Regions from separate parts of the Homo sapiens genome. Here region 1 is linked to region 2. The links are contacts of gene promoters, found by promoter capture Hi-C in blood cells and fetal thymus (Javierre and others, 2016). All regions are on one chromosome and are shown on one strand. Each heading gives the region's core, a stretch centred on a gene start or on the middle of the fragment in contact. The rest is flanking DNA. Distances are from core to core; before and after follow the strand shown. Region 1 has its middle 57 kb from the start of ARHGEF3-AS1. Region 2 holds the start of APPL1 (adaptor protein, phosphotyrosine interacting with PH domain and leucine zipper 1).

Region 1 (4,124 bases), core at 1,274-3,773, 230 kb after region 2:
TCTCAAAACAACAACAACAACAAAAACCTCTTGAAAATTCTTACTACTTTATCTGTTGGCTGAACTAATGCCAAGCTCCCATCATGAATAATCAAGAATTTCAACCTGATGACTTCTTGGTAATAATAAAGTTCAATGGGGTTCTTCTCATATGGAGTGTACATAAAACACTGTGAGGGCCCAGAACAGCAAAACGTGCTTAAAGGTGGACATGGGATCTGCTTCAGGGTATCTGCTGAGGTTAGGACTCTGTGTGCCTGTGGGCATAAACATGTGGACATACCTTCCTTTGGATCCTGAAATGGCCAATTCCACAGTAGGGGGAAAGGAGGAAGGACAGCTGTGTTTGAATCTATCATTTCTTGAGACAGCTTGCATTAAAAGTCAAACCAAGAAAACCCAAATGGCCACTTGGCTTTCTGTGGTGTTTGGGAAGGCAGTTTGAGGAGTGGTCTGTGAAGTCCCTGGGCAGGAGGGCTCGGGCTGAGGGCTCAGCTGTGGCACCCCCAGATGACTGCTGAGGTCATGAAGGAGCTCATAGCACCATTCATGTTTCTGGACTCAGTCATTGTGCCTGGGGTCCCCATAGCAAGGAAAGTAGGGAAGTGAACCAAGGTCCAGCCAGTGTTGCTCTTGGCTGCAGGGAAGGAAAAAAAAAAAAAAAGTCAGGATGACCGGGAAGAGAAGGAGCCAAGCCACCTTCCTGGTCCTATTTAATGAGTGTTAATCTTTGTAAATATTCAACAGTATCTGATACCAAGTAATAGCTTTGCCAAATGAGTGAGTGGAGGGCCTCTTTCTGTTTGATTTCCCTGGTTAGTTTTTTTGTGTGTGTGCAGAGAGAGTTTGGACCATTTTCTTTTGTGTGTTTGTGTGGATTGAATAAAAGAGTGATTGTTTTTCAATTGTCTCTATGCAGGAAGCCTTGGCTGACTGTAAAAATTTGGCACTGGGAAGCGAGCAGCAGTTTGCGATGTTACTGATTCAGTGTTTGCATAAATAACTTTGAGAACCTTAAAAACCCAACTGTACATTATACCTTGTAGTTGCAGGACATCAAAGTTAATTAAGTCTTGTCCGCCTCATTTTGCAGATGAGGAAACAGAGGCCAGAAGAGCTTGCATGTGACGTTGCCTTCAACTGTACACACGTTCATGAGAAGTGTGACTTTGGAATTGTGAAAGTTTTATGAGTTCTTGCTGAAGCATCTTCCAGGAATTCTAGAATTGGAATGTGGAGGCCCTGGAGGAGTGAAAATAGAAAATCTTTCAGTTTTCCTGATAATACAGGGGAATGACAGGGCAGTGAAGTAAGGGGTGCAGAGCAGGTGTTTGGATCATTTACCCTTCGTCATCTCCTACTGGGGGCCTCTCATTGTACTCGCAGGCTGTCTCTCTGTTGATCAGGGCAAAGGCATACGTGGATGTGAAAAAGCCCCCACAAACAGCTCCTCTGAGTTCCTGTGACAACCTGCCCGGGGTAGATCTGCGCGGAGTCAGCCCTGTTTATGGAGAGGCTGCCAGACCCCACTTTTGCCCAGGCCTTCTTGCTCAGGCAAGCCTGCTGCTAAGCTCTTAGGGGGGCAGAGTTTGCTTTTGGCATCTCTTTCTGCCCACCCTTAGCCATCTTCCTCTTGATACCAGCCCCTTCCAAGAACCAAGAGCCCTCCACCTGATCCCTGGGCCCGACTGTCTTCCAGGCCATGGACTGGGCAGAAGTGACCAAATGTGGACCCTGCTCTGCAGGACCTCCCCACAGGGCATGTGAGTGGACAGGCTAGAAGTCTGAATTGAGAGTTGGGGGCTCCGGGGGAGTGGTCCATCCTGAGGGAGGTCATGAGGGTCAGAAAGACTTGTCAGAGAAGATGGCCCTGGGGCTGGGTCATCAGAGGCTGAGCTGCTCAGTGGAAACCAAGCATCGCAGGCCTCAGTGCTGTTTGGTGGCAAGTGCTTCTGCAGGGCTGGAGGCCCTGTGTGGGGATGCTGGGGTAGGGATCCCAGGAAATGAGTTGAGGGGTAGGTGAGGTGGGGAGGGTTGTAATGGCTAGAGCAGGGGTGTTCAATCTTTTGGCTTCCCTGAGCCACATTGGAAGAAGAATAATTGTCTTGGGCCACACATAAAATACAGTAACACTAATGACAGCTGATGAGCAAATAAGCAAATTGCAAAAAAAAAAAAAAATAATAATAATAATAATAATAATGTTTTAAGAAAGTTTCCGAATTTGTGTTGGGCCACGTTCAAAGCTGTACTGGGCCCGCCTGCGGGCCACAGGTTGCACAAGCTTGGGCTATAGGGTCTGCATAGCTGTGCTTTTTTATCTTGGATTTTATTCTGTAAGAGATACGGGGCCTTGCTGTCTTAGTCCATTTGAGCTGCTGTAGCAATACATCATAAAGAGAGTGGCTTATAAACAACAGAAATTTATTGATTTCTCACAGTTCTGGAGGCTGAGAAGTCCAAGGTCAAGGTGCCAGCAGATTCAGCATCTTGTGAGGGCCCATTTCCTCGTTCATAGATGGTGCCTTCTCACTGTGTCCTCATGAGATGGAAAGGAAAGAAGCTCTCTGGGGCCTTTTATTAATGCACTAATCCCATTCATTTAATCACCTTCCAGAGGCCCTACCTCCTCATACCATCACATGGGGGATTAGGTTTCAACCCATGAATTTTGGTGAGACACAAACATTCAGACCATAGCAATTTCAAGGGTTTGAAATGGGATGAGGAAGGAATAACTATATTTGAGATTTAGAAGCTTCTCGTTTGCAGTGTGCAGGGAGAGCTAAGATAGGGAATAGACAGGAGAGGAGGGGGTTTGAAGCAGAGTGGATGCAGAAATGAGGGAGGGTGGCTCAGCAGACCCCCTGGGTTCCACAGTGGAAATGGGGGCAGATGGTGATGCCAGTCATTAAGACTGTGTTTCAGTTGGTGAGTCCCAGTCTCTAGGTCTACAAAATGAGAATAAGGGATGATGATGGGGATTAAAGGCAATCTCATGGGGGCTGTGCTTGGAGGGCACTGTCACCTGTGTTTTTTTCCTTCTTTCAATTGAAAGCTCCCAACCTTGTGTTCCAATCCCCCAGGGCCTTGCTCTTTGATAACTCAGCTGATGAATTACTTCTCATCACAGGTGGGAGTTAATGGTTGATGGGAATTAATATGTTATCCGGTCCTGGTAGCCTATTTCCATTTTAAACAGAGGTTCTCACTAACTAGACTAAAGGAGTCCTCAGACTTTTAGGGCAGCCTTGAATTTGTCATCAAAATTTTGCCAGAAAATCTTCAAATGTCCAATTTTAGCTTCAACTTATATTTTTTAGTTTCCTCTCTATTCAACTTACATTTTTTAGGTTTCTCTCTACTGGGGTCTCAAATTGAGACCAGGTTAAAAAAAATTCTCTCTCTCTCTCTCTCTCTCTCTCTCTCTCTCTCTCTCTCTCTCTCTCTCGGAAAATTTACTCTCTTTTGCCCCCTAGTGTCAGACTTTTGAATACCTCTTTGAGTCCAGTCACTTTGGGATTGATTGAAAAAATGATGATTGCATGTCTCCTGTTTGCTGGGTGCCACAAAGATCCTCACTGCCTGATCTTATCATGGCCATTCAGTCCATTCCTAAAGAAGCAGCAAGGCATATAAACAAAGTTAAAATGAATTCTGTCTGGAAGATTTTATATCTTTTTTTTAGCATTTCACATTACTCTTTGATACAACAAATCAGAGTCATCAGAGGACGAGCTTGGTAAAGGACAGTTGTCAAAGTCCTAATTCCTGAGAAGGACAAGATGCCTCTTCACTGAACTCCACCCCCCAGACGCCGGCCTCAGCTCATAGCACAGAGGAAAATTATGATCCTTGAGCATAAATTGCTTTACAAAGAGTTGAAAATTGGTGCTCTGTGCCCCAGCCATTGTATTAGTCCATTTTCACACTGCTATTAAAGAACTACCTGAGACTGGGTAATTTATAAAGAAAAGAGATTTAATTGATGAACAGTTCCCCAGAGGAGAACTGAGGCCCAGTCTCCTGAGGCCTCAGGAAACTTAGAATCATGGCAGAAGGCAAAGAGGAGGCATGGCACATCTTACATGGGGTCAGGAGAGAATGAGAGTGAGGGGGGACGT
Region 2 (4,672 bases), core at 1,389-3,888:
TGGACCTTCCAATTTTTCTGAAGGAAGCAACTATTATTTCTTTTTAATCAGGGTCAAAAATAAAAACATGTCATTAAGACACAACAGCTGAGGTTCAGAGAAGTTGAATGATTTGCCCTAAAGCAGAAGGTAGTAAAGTGGCAGTGATGACTAAAAACCTCGTCAACCCTAGATCCAAGGCTTTGCATTCTGCCACAGGTTCGACCTAAGAATCACCTCCAAGTATGTACACTTCCTAAATCCCAGTTGTACCAATTAATTTTCCCAAGTAAATTTTACCTAGTTCAAATTTATTGCCTTTCAACATTGAAGGGATATCAATGTGTCTACTTCATTAAAAATTAGCTGGCACAGGCCAGGCGCAGTGGCTCACACCTGTAATCCCAGCACTTTGAGAGGCCAAGGCGGGCAGATCACCTGAGGTCAGGAGTTCGAGACCAGCCTGGCCAACATGGCAAAACCCCGTCTCTACAAAAAGTACAAAAACTAGGTGGGCGTGGTGGCACACGTCTGTAATCCCAGCTACTCAGGAGGCTGAGGCATGAGAATCACTTGAACCCGGGAGGCAGAGGTTGCAGTGAGCCAAGATTGCAACATTGCACTCCAGCCTGGGCAACAAGAGCAAAACCCCGTCTCAGGAAAAAAAAAAAAAAAAAAAAAAAAAAAAGCTGGCACAGTGGCACACGCCTGTATTCCCAGCTGCTAGGGAGGCTGAGGCAGGAGGATCACTTCAGCATAGGTGTTCCAGGACACAGTGCACTACGATAGTGTCTGTGAACAGCCATTGCTCTCCAGACTGGGAAACATAGCAAGATCCCCATCTCAAAAAACAAACAAATATATTGTAAAACGGACACTAGTATGATGCATGCTTGTAAAGAAAAAAAAAAACCACAATTCTTAAGTTGTAAACTAATCTGGCAAAAACCTCAAGACATTAGATGAGTCAAGAGTTTATCTCTGCCTCACAAGTCATTTCCAGGGCAGTGTGCAATCCATTCTGAGCCGTTTATAGTCTTTATGGGCTATTAAAAAAAAAAGCCAAGTAAGAGAAGAAAGGTAAGGCAACCTGTTGAATCTTACATAATAAAAAGTAAAATGACAAAGTACACCTGACCAATTCCACAAACTTTTTGCAAATCATCTGAAACAAATACAGTTTATAACTTTATATGGAGAAATCATCAAGAAAAAAATTGAACCGAGTATACTGGCAGTCAAGATAAACCAAATGTGAGTTTCTCTTTTTGTCACTATCAGCTGTTAAGAGTACATTAGCAGCAGGCAACTGGCCTGTGAAGATAACTTTCAGAATAAAAAAGAACAAATCAATTCTACAATCAGAGCCCCATTTCAACTTGGCAATTAACATTGGCACAAAATCCATGGCAGAAGTGCCATCCAGGAAAAGGAGATCTAGACCTCTTCTGCTTTTCTTCTTTGGGGGCCATGTTCAACTGTAAAGACACACGAAATGGTGCAACTGCATTTCTAAATCAGCAACAATTCAGAAATGTTTCATTCTAAATAGTGTCCAACCAGCAACACCGTCTTAAACCGTTTAAATTATCGTGTAAAACGGCTTAGAGATGAAGTTTTCCCTATGCAAGTTACAGCCCCTGCCAACATTTTAAAAAATATAGCTGCTTTCATTCTGCAGTACTGAAAACATATTAAATGGTTACATTTTCCAAAACTGTCTTAAGCTAGAGCAACCACATCAGCATCATTCCGACGCACAGAACACAGGGCTTTTATTTTGATGAGTTTATTAAGGCCAAGTCTGCAGGGAGCAGCGCAGCAGTCGCGGAGCGGCGAAGGCACCGTCCATCCCTCGCCGTGCACAGCTCGAGTGACAGCGACCACAGTCACGGCCGCGACACGGGCACATTCGGCGGGGAGAGCGGTCTTGGGCTCCGGGACCCGTCACGGGCTTTGCCATTAGGGCTCCACACACAACCTTACAGCCTCTCCCAAAGAAAAACGATCCATTTCCTTCCTTAGCTTGCTGAGCCTCGGAAATCATTAAATAAGACTATCGGGGTTTCTCTCCCTTCTGCAATTTTTCTGAAGAGGTTCTCAGGGAGAAAATTCCAGGATCGAGATTTGGCACCTCACATCACCGCGATAAAAACGGCGCCTTTCGTCAAATAAAAAGGACCCGCGCGCGTACGTGACCGCCCGGCCCACGAGCACCAGCGGCTCGGTCTCCGCCTGCGGCCCTCGGCCCAGCCGAGCAGGCCCACGCGGGCCTTGGGCGGCGGGCCCAGCCTCCACAACTCCGGGCGCGGCCTGCGACGGGCGGTGACCTAGGGCGGCGGCGGCCCCCACCTGGGCCGGGGCGGGCACCTGCGGGAGCCGCGGAGGCGCCAGACCTGGGGTCGGCCAGCTGGGCTCTCCCTCGTCGCCCACCAGCTCCCGCGCCTCACCTGCGGGCTGTCCTCCAGCGTCTCCTCGATGGGCAGCTTGTCGATCCCCGGCATCGTGGCGGAGGGAGGGCGGTGGCAGGAGACGCAGCTGCCGCCCACAGCTCCCCGCGCCGGCCCGCCCGCCGCAGCTGACCCCGGCCCGCCCTCTCCGGCAAGGGCTGCAGCCGTCCCCGCCCGCACAGCCTTCTCCAGGCGCCGAGCGGCCGTGCGGGAAATCCCGCCCCCTCGGCCTCCCTGCCCCGCCTCCCGGCGCGTCCATTGGCTCCCGGGGACGCCCATCCGCGCTGCGGCGGTGGTCGGGAGGTTCCCGTGCGGCGCTAGGCTCTCCCGCGAGCGCGGGCGTCGGAAGCGGCGGAGGTGGCAGTGTCTGCCCTGGGATGGCCTTCCCTGCACGCGCGCGTTTGTATCTAAATCGCAGGGGACCGTCTCTTCCTCAGCTTGCCGGCGCGAGGAGCCAGAGCCTCGAGTTAGGGCCACACGGGGGAATTTGGGGCGGGTTGACTTTTCCCGCAACATATTTTGTCAGAGACCTTGGAGAAAGTCCTACTGCTGGCGCCTTTTAGTTTCCTCAGATGATAACATTCCCAACTCCGCTCGAAGCGTCCAGTCTTAATCCCCTCCAGCAGAATGGTGCTGACTAACTCAGATGTCTGAGATCCGCAGCTGTGTCAATAATAGGGCTTTCTGGCAAACTTGTGAACGTAGGCTCGAAATTGTTTTTCTGGACGCTTGAATATCAGTATATTCAGTTGAAAACATGTGATTTTGTTGCCAGTTTATCAGTTCCTACCTGGCCTCCCGAGGTCAGTCCTTCAGGACTGACGCTGCAACTCCAACTCCCATGTTTCTTTTAAATCACAAAGGAAAATATCTTTTAAAAATCAGGATACACTGATTAATTATGTTAGTAACTAATTGGCATTTGTTGAATCAAAAAGTTTTGGAAGCGTTAAATAGTTTTAGCCTCTAATTTTACAATAAAGTGAAGCTCAAAGTTGGGAATTTGACCGGATGAGGGCTACAAGCCTATCCTTTCCTCCTCCCTCTTCATCTTTCCCAACCTGTCACCCTGGCTCGTTTATGTCTCTGTATAGTTGTAGGCTTTCATCATTATACAGAGAAAATAACAAAGTAAGTAGTGTCTTCTAAACATCTAGCCATTAATTCCACCAATCCATTCCATTTTCATTCAAGAAATACCAGAGATGCTGAGTAAAGATTAATTAGCTGCCTGGTTCCACAGATACATGGGAACAAATCCAGAATAGTAGTAGCTCAAATCCAAATATAGTAACAAATAGAAGTTATATATTTTAAACGAAAATAGTAGATTTTCCCATGATCTCTTGAAAGAAAAATAAAATTATATTTTTAAAGTTTTGTTGAGTAGACTTGCATTGTAGTTTTACGGAATTATTTTTAGTGTTACAATCTTTAAAAGTTTTCCCCTTAGATTGTTTATCAGCCAGTCTCTCTCTCCCGAAGAGTTCTTTAGTTTTTGAGGAAGTTGATTTGGAGGCAGTTCTTACAATGAGTTAAGGGTTCCCAGTTGTGTTACAGTTTCTTTTTCCTTGATATCTCATTTCTACTCTGCCAACAAGAACACCATGCACCCCAGCTCTAAAGAAGGAAGACTTTCAAGGTAAGTGACCTTCCTGATTGAACTGAGTTAGATTTTAAATGAAGAAAGGTTGTGGCAACTGTTAAGAATCAGGAGTAAGTGAGGAGTGTAAACAATGTATAAGAAAGAAAAAAAAAAAGGCCTGGCGCTGTGGCTCACGCCTGTAATCCCAGCAATTTGGGAGGCCGTGGCAGCTGGATCACCTGAGGTCAGGAGTTCAAGACCAGCCTGCCCAACATGGCGAAACCCAGTCTCTACTAACAATACAAAAATTAGCCGGGCGTGGTGGCGTGCCTGTAGTCCCAGCTACTCAGGCGGCTGAGGCAGGAGACTCAGTTGAAGCCGGGAGGCCCAGGTGCAGTGAGCTGAGATCATACCACTGCGCTCCGGCCTGGGCGACAGAGCAAGACTACGTATCAAAAAAAAAAAAAAAAAGAAAAGAAAAGAAAAGTATTTGTTACCTAATTAACTTGGCCAAACCAAATAATTCCGATGAAAAATTCGATTAGTTATCTGAATTATCTGGGTGTGGTATTGTCAAGTTAAATGGTTTCCTTCTTAGTATGTTATGTACATCTAAACTGTGTTTCTGTAAAGGACTCTCAAGAGGCCATTACATTAT

Evidence for each region. The method cuts DNA at HindIII sites, captures the fragments that hold promoters and counts their contacts. A CHiCAGO score of 5 or more calls a contact.
Region 1: a contact is called between a fragment that was not itself captured here and the fragment with the promoter of APPL1 in region 2, in 2 of 17 cell types (M0 macrophages and endothelial precursors). The highest score is 5.6, in M0 macrophages.

Annotation. Positions count from the first base shown.
Region 1 is chr3:56,994,948-56,999,071 of GRCh38, reverse strand. It overlaps a transcript of ARHGEF3 not described here. Among named protein-coding and RNA genes, the nearest start is that of ARHGEF3-AS1, 57 kb to the right of the region's middle. The HindIII fragment of the contact is 474 bases long and covers 2,287-2,760 here.
Region 2 is chr3:57,225,695-57,230,366 of GRCh38, reverse strand. It overlaps APPL1 (adaptor protein, phosphotyrosine interacting with PH domain and leucine zipper 1), which reads right to left and starts at 2,638. Exons shown (of 22, transcript NM_012096.3): 1 at 2,430-2,638. The coding sequence starts at 2,483. It also overlaps a transcript of HESX1 not described here. RefSeq lists a silencer at 2,181-2,840. The HindIII fragment of the contact is 8,451 bases long and covers 1-4,672 here.